Regions from separate parts of the Homo sapiens genome. Here region 2 is linked to region 1. Evidence: promoter capture Hi-C in 16 types of primary human blood cells and fetal thymus (Javierre and others, 2016). All regions are on one chromosome and are shown on one strand. The core of a region is centred on a gene start or on the middle of the fragment in contact, and the rest is flanking DNA. Distances in the headings are between cores, read along the strand shown.

Region 1 (5,029 bases), core at 1,233-3,732:
GTGTGTGAATTTAGCCACTTTACAGTCCTTGTTCCCAGCAATTTGGAACTTTCCTTTTGATTTGATCAAGTCAGATATAGTTGATCAAACCCAATGGGAAAAGACCAAAGCAACAACAAAAACAGAGACAAACAAGCAACCAAAAAAGCATTTAAGCCAAACAAAAAATGGCACAACTTATATGATCACTGAGCACGCTCTAATGGTAAGGATAAATTAATGTTAGAGGAAAGCGGTCCCGATCCAGACCCCAAGAGAGGGTTTTTGGATCTCACGCAATAAAGAATTCAAGGCGAGTCTACAGACTAAAGCAAATGCAAGTTCCTTAGGAAAGTAGAGGAATAAAAAGATGGCTACTCCATAGACAGAGCACCCTGAGGGGTGCTGGTTGCCCATTCTCATGGTTATTTCTTGATGATATGCTAAACAAGGGGTGGACTATTCATGCCTCCCCTTTTTAGACCATATAGAGTAACTTCCTGACATTGCCATGGCATTTGTAAACTGTCATGGTGCTGATGGGAGTGTAGTAGTGAAGTCAAGCAGAGGTCACTCTCATCACCACCTTGGTTTTGGTAGGATTTAGCCGGCTTTTTTACTGCAGCGTGTTTTATCAGCAAGGTGTTTATGACTTGTATTTTGTGCCGACCTCCTGTCTCATCCTGTGACTTAGAATGCCTTCACTGTCTGGGAATGGAGCCTAGTAGATCTCAGCCTCATTTTACCCAGCCCCCACTCAAGATGGAGTTGCTCTGGTTCAAATGCCTCTGACATTAAGACCAGCTGGCTGTTAACCTTAACTTTAGCCAAGACAAACCCCAATTCAGTTACTTACCTAGGGATGGGTCTTAGGCTGTAGACTGCTCTCTACCATTCTAGAAGCAGGAAAAAAGACCTCATCTTCCCTGTTGGAAGCGAGCTCAAACTCCATAAAGGAGTTACCTGCCTTCCATTGTCATGGAAGCAGGAAACCTTGCCTTCCTTGTTGGAAGCAAGTAAAACTGCAAAGAAAAGAGTTGTACAGCAAAATAAACTTTAGATCTCCACCAAATTTTGGGAGATCAGGGAGGCTCTGGAGGGGGTGCTCTCAGACCTGGGCTCACTCTTGTAATCCCAGCACTTTGGGAGGCCGAGGCGGGTGGATCACCTGAGGTCAGGACTTCAAGACCAGCCTGGCCAACATGGTGAAATCCCGTCTCTACAAAAATGCAAAAATGAGCCGGGCTCGGTAGCTCACGCCTGTAATTCCAGCACTTTGGGAGGCTGAGGCGGGCGGATCACCTGAGGCCGGGAGTTGGAGACCAGCCTGACCAACATGGAAAAACCCTGTCTGTACTAAAAATACAAAATTAGCCAGGCGTGGTGGCACATGCCTGTAATCCCAGGTACTCGAGAGGCTGAGGCAGGAGAATTGCTTTAACCTGGGAGATGGAGGTTGCCGTGTGCCGAGATCTCGCAATTGCACTCCAGCCTGGGTAACAAGAGCGAAACTTCGTCTCAAAAAAACAAAACAAACAACAACAACAACAAAAAAAAAAACACGAAAAATTAGCTGGGCATGATGGCGTGTGCCTGTAATCCCAGCTACTCAGGAGGCTGAGGCAGGAGAATCGCTTGAACCTGGGAAGCAGAGGTTACAGTGAGCTGAGATTGGGACATTGCACTCCAGCCTGGGCGACTGAGTGAGACTCAAAAAAAAAAAAAAAGCTAAGGCGGGGAGGGGGCCTTCCAGGTCATAGGTAGATAAGGGACAAATGGCTGCATTCTTTTGAGTTTTCAATTAGCCTCTGCAAAGGAGGCAATCAGGTGTGCATTTAACTCAGCAGAGGGGTGACTTTGAATAGAATGGAGGCAGGTTAGCCCTAAGCAGTTCCCAGCTTTTCTTTTCCCTTTAGCTTAGTAGTGGGGCCCCAAGATTTATTTTCCTTTCACAAATGTGTATTTTGATACCCATTGGCATACTATGTATATTATTGTATTATACTATGACATTATCTTGTGTATGTACACGATGTACTTATTTGTTAATCGTCTCCCGTCTTCCTCACACCTGTACCCCTCCTCTCCTGTTGACAGAGAACAAGAATTTTGTTTTGTTCGCTGCTGTATCCGCAAAGCTCCCAAAGTCCTCCGAATGCCGCAGGCTCTCAGTAAAGACCTGCAGGAAGAAATAGCGAATGAATGATGTACACGTGTAGGAAACAGCGGGCTCGGACGCCTGGCTTCTCCGGCTGCCCTAACGCCCTCCAGCTCCAGGTGAGGTCGGGGAGCTGGGGCCAAGGCTCGTGAGCGCCCCTCACCCCCACGCCCCCCGGCCGCGGGCGCTGGAGCCGGCGGCTGCGAGCACTCCTTTGAGCGGCGCTGCACTCAGCGGAGGGTTACAGGCGGGAGGGCGGGGCCTGGAAGGGGGCGGGGATTCGAGGCGGGGCCTGCGGGGCGGGGCCTGGGCCAAGCGGCCCGCAGGAGGCGGCGGCGGCCGTTCAGTCCCTTGTTCCCCGCCGCCGCCGTCGCTGACCCAGCCCGCCAGGCGCTCCTGACCGTCGCTTCCTCCGGTCCCAGGTCCCCGGCCCTCGCCTCAGCCCCGGCCCCTGGTCCCCAGCCCTCGTCGCAGCCCCGGCCGCCCGCCGCCGCCATGTCCAAGGAGGAGCGCCCCGGTCGGGAGGAGATCCTGGAGTGCCAGGTGATGTGGGAGCCTGACAGTAAGAAGAACACGCAGATGGACCGCTTCCGGGCGGCTGTGGGCGCCGCCTGCGGCCTGGCGCTGGGTGAGAGTCGGGCGCGCGGCCGGGCCTGCGGGGGATGGGCGGGAGCCGTGCAGGGTGGTTGGGTGGTCTCCCCATGGCTAGTTTCACGCTTCTGGGGCTGGAGGAGCCACTTGATGGCGGGGAGGCCTTCTGACTGCGGGGTTCCCCCCAGTCTTGGGGAACATCACCCCTCCACAGCACCTCCTGGCACTTCCTGACTCTGCAGCGTCTCCTCTGCATGTGGGGGTCACCCTCTCCCCGGGAGTGTCACCCCTCGGGAGGGCCAGCTGCCTGTTGACCGTGTGACCCCTTGCTAGGCTTTCCTACCTGTGAGGTGCTCCCTGGAGTCTTGACCTCCGGCCTGTGGGGGCTTCCCCCGGACATAGGGCCTTTTTGACTTGCAGCTCTTCCTCTGTTTGTGGGGGTCCCTTGCCAGTCCCCAGTGCCGTGCACTCTGTCCCCCTGACCTCCCTCATCTCCAGCTGCCCCTGCTGGAGGCCAGCACCTAGCAGGATGGTCAGGCAGGAGGCCCTGTCCACGTGTCTACACTCCCAGCCCCCAAACAGAACCTAGTAAAAGACTCTCTTTCCACCCATCACCTTGAACCTCAGAAACTGCCTCTCTCGGTGCGGGTGGGGCAAAGGCTCCTTCTCCGTGGGGTAACCGCTCCGGGTGCTCTTCCTGAGCTCTAGCTGGCTTGCCCAACTACCAGCTCCACCCCTCCACCCTGCCTCCCCTAGGTATTCCTAGGGGATTTTTTTTTTTTTTTTTTGAGACAGTTTCTCTCTCGTTGCCCAGGCTGGAGTGCAATGGCGAGATCTCGGCACACTGCAACCTCCGCCTCCCGGGTTCAAGTGATTCTCCTGCCTCAGCCTCCCGAGTAGCTGGGATTACAGGCATACACCACCACGCCTGGCTAATTTTGTATTTTTAGTAGAGACGGAGTTTCTCCATGTTGGTCAGGCTGGTCTCGAACTCCTGACCTCAGGTGATCCGATCGCCTTGGCCTCCCAAAGTGCTGGGATTACAGGTGTGAGCCACGGCGCCTGGCCTCCTAGGGGATTTTTAACTCATGGTCTCCCCTCCTCACCCCCTCCGCTGGCGCAGGGACTCCCTTGTTTCTGTTGGTGGCGTCACTGTTCTTGCTCAGGCTCACAGGGATGGACACCCCAGTCACCTGTGGCACCAGAAGTCTTCTGCCACAGCCCCATGTCGCTCACATCTCCTCCTTTGCAGCCCCTTGTCAGGGGTTCTGGGGCCTCCTTTCCTCCTCACCAAACAGTGGTTGGTTTTCCTGCTTCCTGCTTTTCCATCCATTTGCATCCTGCTTGCTTTGCCAGAGTAATCTTGAAGCATACAGGTCTTACTTTGTCACTCCTTGGCTCAGAAGTTCTCAGTGGTTCCTTGTTGACCACAAAATTGCAGACGGCTGCCTGGCAGCTTCCAGGCCCTCCACAGCAGTGGGGAGCTTCCACAGAGTCATTTTCCTAGGCTAACCCAGAGCTGTTCCTCTCCTTCCCTTCCTCTCCCTTGGAGACAGGTGTAGTCTGTTGCCCCAGGGGCTTCTGGACAGCAGTTGGTAAATGAGTATGTGTTGGATTAGGGCAGCCTGGAGACTCCTGGAAGAAGCAGGAGGCTGCCATGTGGGATTATGTTCTTCCTCTGTGTCACCTTGCCTTGATTCCATCTGTTTCCTCTGCCAGCAATAACAGAATGCTGGTCTGGTGCCTGTCTAGCCCTGATGTTATGAAATAATTTCAGATCGGGCAGCCCTATTAGATGGGTGAAACCACCTTCCTCCGTGGGAAGTGTTGAAGAGAAGGGATTTGTAATCTGACTATCTGGATTTTTTTTTTTTTTAAGCCTCGCTTTTCTCCCCCAGGCTGGAGTGCGACGGCGCAATCTCGGCTCATTGCAACCTCTGCCTCCTGGGTTCACGCAGTTCTCCTGCCTCAGCCTCCCGAGTAGCTGGGATTACAGGTGCCTGCCACTATGCCCGGCTAATTTTTGTATTTTTAGTAGAGACGGGGTTTCACCATGTAGGCCAGGCTGGTCTAGAACTCCTGACCTCAGGTGATCCACCTGCCTCGGCCTCCCAAAGTGCTGGGATTACAGGTGTGAGCCACCGTGCTCGGCCGACTACCTGGGTTTTGAACTAGCTCTACCACTTACCAGCTGTGTGATCAGGAGGAAGTCATTGGATCTCTTCATGCCTTGTTTCCTCATCTGTAAAATGGGCATAACAGGACCTGAGTCATTGAGTGGGTGTGCAGGTGACAGGAGAT
Region 2 (5,029 bases), core at 1,339-3,838, 110 kb before region 1:
ACCTTACATGTAATGGTTAATTATGTGTCCACTTGACTGGGCAAAGGGATGCCCAGATAGCTAATTAAGCCTTATTTCTGGGTGTTTCTTTGAATTGGTGACTGGCATAAAGCTACTGCCCTCCCCCAATGTGGGTGTGGGCCACATCTGATCCACTGAGGGCCCAAGTAGGCAGAGGAGGTGTGACTTCGGGCTCTGCTGACTGCGTGAGCTGGGTCTTCCCTGCCCTCGATGCTCCTGGTTCTTGGGCCTTCAGACCCCAACTGAAACTGACACCACTTTCTGTTTCTCCAGAGAACCCTATTATTCTCCCCCAAGGGATTCTGACGAATAGCTGGGATTACAGGTGTCCATCACCATGCCCGCTTTTTGATTTTTAGTAGAGACAGGGTTTCACCATGTTGGCCAGGCTGGTCTCAAATTCCTGACCTCTCAAGTGATCTGCCTGCCTCGGCCTCCCAAGTGCTGGGATTACAGGCGTGAGCCACCATGCCCGGCTAAAGCTGCTTTTGAAGTTCAGATGCACTGACCCTGAAAAGATACAGGACCATCTGATCTCATTTCCTCAAATTAAAACTCTGTCCGTGCAGAGCACAGGGAAACGTCTGGAACTGCACTGGCCAATACAGTGGCCACTAGCCACATGTGGCTGTTTAAATTTAAACTATTAAAAATAAGTAAGGTTTTAAGTCAGTTTGTTGCCGTAACTGCCACATTTCACAGGCTGAGGCCACGTGTGGTTAGTGGCTGCGGTATGGAATGGCCCATGCAGTGATGTGGCCTAAAGCAAAGTTCCTGGTTAGGGTGGGTGGGACCGGGGAGGGGAGGTGGTGGAGGATAAACAAAGAAAAACCATCCAGATCTCAACAGATTCCCCAGTGTCCACCTAACTGCCTTCCCAACTAGTGTCTGCTCTGTCATCTGACAAGATGGTCCAAACACAGGCAGATTGACCCTAAGGGAAGCAGCAGGCTTTGCACAAGATGCAGAGGCTCACAGAGTCGATGAAGTGACATTGTGGGCCTGCCTGTACCATTCACAGTGGACGAGAGATGGTGGCAGCAGAAGCCTGGCTCACAGCTGAGGGAGAGATGGTCAAAACTGATGGCGTGAAAGGCGGTTTCAGGAGGAATGATGTGAACGCTGAAGACTTACCAAGCCCTTGAGAAACTCAAGTTGCTTCCAGAAATCTCTGCAGAAATGACCCCTTTTATCATTAAGCTGCCAAAGGCAGATCTACGCAATAGGATGCCAGGAAATTATTAAATAATTGTTCATTCTAAGAATTAGCATGTAGTCATAATCTATAAGTAAATTTTGTTAAATACACAATGCACTAAACATACTTTCAACATACTTTCACAGTCTTAGTGTCACTTTTCTTTTTCTTTTTTTAGAGAAGGGTCTCACTCTGTTGCCCAGGCTAGAGTGCAGTTGCACAATCTCAGCTCACTGCAACCTCTACCTCCTGGGTTCAAATGATTCTTCTACCTCAGCCTCCTGAGTAGCTGGGACTCTCAGCCCAGAGCCCCCGTCGGAACTGAGCTTGGCCCTGAGTGCCCAGCCGCCAACCTCGCACCTGTCCAGCTCCTCAAACAGCTCCCGCACCGTCATGCTGGCCACGATGGTGATGGCATAGGGCAGGCAGCCGTGTTGTCGGCTCAGTGCCAGCATCTTAGCGTAGCGGGGTGCCACGGGGAATGTGGCCATTGTCCGGCCCAGCGCAGTGATGGGGCAGCTCAGCCGGTTCTCCTGCAGTTGCTTCACCCTGGAGATGGAGGTGGTGGTGGCAGTGCTCTGAGAGGAGCTCTGGAGCCACAGCTGGGAGGCCCCACGCTTGAGGCAGCTCAGGCCCAGCAAAAGGGAGAGAGGGCCCTGAACGGGGCAGGAACTGGGCTCTGCATCTCTTGGCCTTACCTTTCTGCTTTCTGGGGCGGTTGCAGGGCACCCAGTGCGATCAACAGCTCCTCGGCGGCAAGAAGGGCTTCCACGGAGGGGGGCGTCGGGAAGGGGAAGTTGATGACCTGGGACACAAGGAGACGTGGCAGGGACAGGGTGAATGCCAAGAACAAGTCCGGTGCTCCTGCTCCGTCTGTGGCAGGCACTCCCTCCAACCCCTCTCTCCGGGCTCAGCTCATGCCAGTGGGGACACAGGGGCCTGGGGCACTCTCAAAGGCCAGGTCCCAATGGAACCCCAAGGCCTCCTTTACTCACTCACCTCATCCATTCACTCAAAAACACGTCCCAAGCACTGGCTAGGCACTGAGGGCTGTGCTTTGCCCCCGCTGGGTGCTTTTTTCGGTTTTTAACAGACTATTATACTCATGAGGACTGAGCGTCATTTGACCAGGAGGGGCCACAGGTAGTCAGTGAGGCATAATACGAATAAATTGGCCTGGTGCGGTGGCTCACGCCTGTAATCCCAGCACTTTGGGAGGCTGAGGCGGGTAGATCACCTGAGGTCAGGAGTTCGAGACCAGCCTGACCAATATGGTGAAACCCCCATCTCTACTAAAAATACAAAAATTAGCCGGGTGTGGTGGCGCTCGCCTGTAGTCCCAGCTACTTGGGAGGCTGAGACAGGAGAATCATTTGAACCTGGGAGGTGGGGGTTTCAGTGAGCCGAGATCACACCACTGTACTCCAGCCTGGGTGACAGAGTGAGACCCCATCTCAAAATAGTAATAATAACGTGAATAAATTTATCACAATAGCCAAAAGATGGAAGCAACCTGTGCGTCTCTGAATGGAGGAGTGCATGAACAAAACGTGGGCCACCCATAAAATGGACAATGATTCAGCCGCGAATAGGAGTGAAGCAGCGACACGCGCTACACCACGGATGGAGCTTGAGAACATCATACTCAGGGAAAGACGCCGGGCACAAAGGCCACGCATTGTAGGATTCCATCTGCATGAAATGTCCCAAACTGGCAAATCCATGGAGAGGAGTGGGCACAGGGGCCAGGGAGCTGGGAGGTGGTGACAGATAAAGGGTACATGCTTCCTTTCTGGGGTGATGAAAATGGCCACGGTGGTGATGTCCGCACAACTTTGTGAACACACTGGAAACTACTGACCCACACACTTTCAATGGGTGACTGTGTGGTGCCTGAACTCTATCTCAATAAAGCTAGAGGCGGGGTGGTGAGCCTGCAGCAGGCACGCAGGTAAGGAGGCAATGCTAGGAACCCAGGTCTGGGGGAAGGCAGGAGGGGGCCTGCTCTGGAGCTGACTCAAGAGCCAGGGGAAGCCACTGCGGAGTTTCTACAGAGTGGACTTGATGTCACTTGTGGGAGGCACTCCCGACAGTGCTCCCAGCCACACTGAGCTCCCAGCCCAGCCCTGACACTTTTTATCCACGTGACCCACAGTCAGGCCTGTCTCAGTGTCTCAGGCTCCTCATCTGGAAAATGGGGTGATAACACTAGTAACTCCCTCCTAGAGTGGCTGGGAGGATAACCTGAGGTCACACGTGCTGAACGCCCAGCACATACTTGGCATCCATGATTCTTTTTTTTCTTTTTTTTTGTGAGATGGAGTCTTGCTATATCGCCCAGGCTAGAGTGCAACGGCGTGATCTCGGCTCACTGCAACCTCTGCCTCTTGGGTTCAAGAATTCTCCTGCCTCAGCCTCCCGAGTAGCTGGAACTACAGGTGCCCACCATCACGCCTGGCTAATTTTTATATTTTTAGTAGAGACGGAGTTTCACCATATTGGCCAGGCTGGTCTCGAGCTCCTGATGTTGTGATCCACCCGCCTCGGCCTCCCAAAGTGCTGTGAGCCAATGCACCCAGCTTTTTTTTTTTTTTTTTGGGACGGAGTCTTGCTCTGTCTCCCAGTCTGGAGTGCAACGGCATGATCTTGGCTCACTGCAACCTCTGCCTCCCAGGTTCCAGTGATTCTCCTGCCTCAGCCTCCCAAGTAGCTGGGATTATAGGCACCTGTCACCACACCTGGCTTTTTTTTTTTTTTTTTGGAGACGGAGTCTCGCCCTGTCACCCAGGCTGGAGTGCAATGGCACAATCTCGGCCCATTGCAACCTCCGCCTCCCGGGTTCAAGTGATTATCCTGCCTCAGCCTCCTGAGTAGCTGGGATTACAGGCGTGTGCCACCACACTCAGCTAATTTTTTGTATCTTTACTAGAGACGGGGTTTCACCTTGTTGGCCAAGCTGGTCTTGAACTCCTGACTTTGTGATCCACCTGCCTCGGCCTTCCAAAGTGCTGAGATTACAGGCGTGAGCCACCACGCCCAGCCTCCCTGGCTAATTTTTTTTTTTGTATTTTTAGTAGAGACGGGGTTTTGCCATGTTAGCCAGGCTGGTCTCAAATTCCTGACCTCAACTAATCCACATGTCTCAGCCTCCCAAAGTGCTAGGATTACAGGTGTGAGCCACCAGGCCCGGCCAGCACCCATGATTTTTATTAGGTGAAAAAATCAAGCCCCCAAAGCAGCGTGTAACATATCAGACAATATTCACAAAACCACAGGAATAAAGTACAGGATGTTATGTGTTTGGAAACGTAACTGGGACACAGGTCACAAATGGCGGACAGTGGGACGGGCTTCACCTTCTCCCTGATGATCTCAAGTATCTGAAGTTTTTATGATTTTGAACATATTAACATCCAGAAAAATCAGTGAGCACAGATGTTTAAAAGGCACTAGGAGACCATGTGGGTTCTGTCACTTACTAGATGTGTGTCCCTGGACAAAAACCTTCACTTCCCTGCCTCCGTTTCCTCATCAGTTAAATGGGGATCTGAACGCCCACAGGACAGCACGCAGCGTGGCACGGGGCACTGCCTGGCTTAGCCTGCCCTGGAGCAGGGGGAGGGAGGGTGACCCTAGAGGGATCCCCCCCTCCACTGGAGGACTGGGTCGGAGAAGGCTGCAGCCAGGAAGAGCCGGCAGCACGTTCTGCACGCCCCACGGACGGATAGTACATGAACAGCGTGCAGGACCCTGCTGCCTCTATTCCAGACAGCCATCCCCTGGGTGTCCACGGGCGATGCAGCACTGGGG

What was found. The method cuts DNA at HindIII sites, captures the fragments that hold promoters and counts their contacts. A CHiCAGO score of 5 or more calls a contact.
Region 2: a contact is called between a fragment that was not itself captured here and the fragment with the promoter of AACS in region 1, in 1 of 17 cell types (neutrophils). The highest score is 5.6, in neutrophils.

What each region holds. Positions count from the first base shown.
Region 1 is chr12:125,062,953-125,067,981 of GRCh38, forward strand. It overlaps AACS (acetoacetyl-CoA synthetase), which reads left to right and starts at 2,483. Exons shown (of 18, transcript NM_023928.5): 1 at 2,483-2,765. The coding sequence starts at 2,633. LOC105370052 (a long non-coding RNA gene) reads right to left here. Exons shown (of 4, transcript XR_001749365.2): 3 at 2,051-2,158. RefSeq lists a silencer at 2,124-2,743. The HindIII fragment of the contact is 11,218 bases long and covers 1-5,029 here.
Region 2 is chr12:124,955,112-124,960,140 of GRCh38, forward strand. DHX37 (DEAH-box helicase 37) reads right to left here. Exons shown (of 27, transcript NM_032656.4): 17 at 1,918-2,024; 18 at 1,580-1,768. Among named protein-coding and RNA genes, the nearest start is that of TRA-TGC4-1, 18 kb to the left of the region's middle. The HindIII fragment of the contact is 8,476 bases long and covers 1-5,029 here.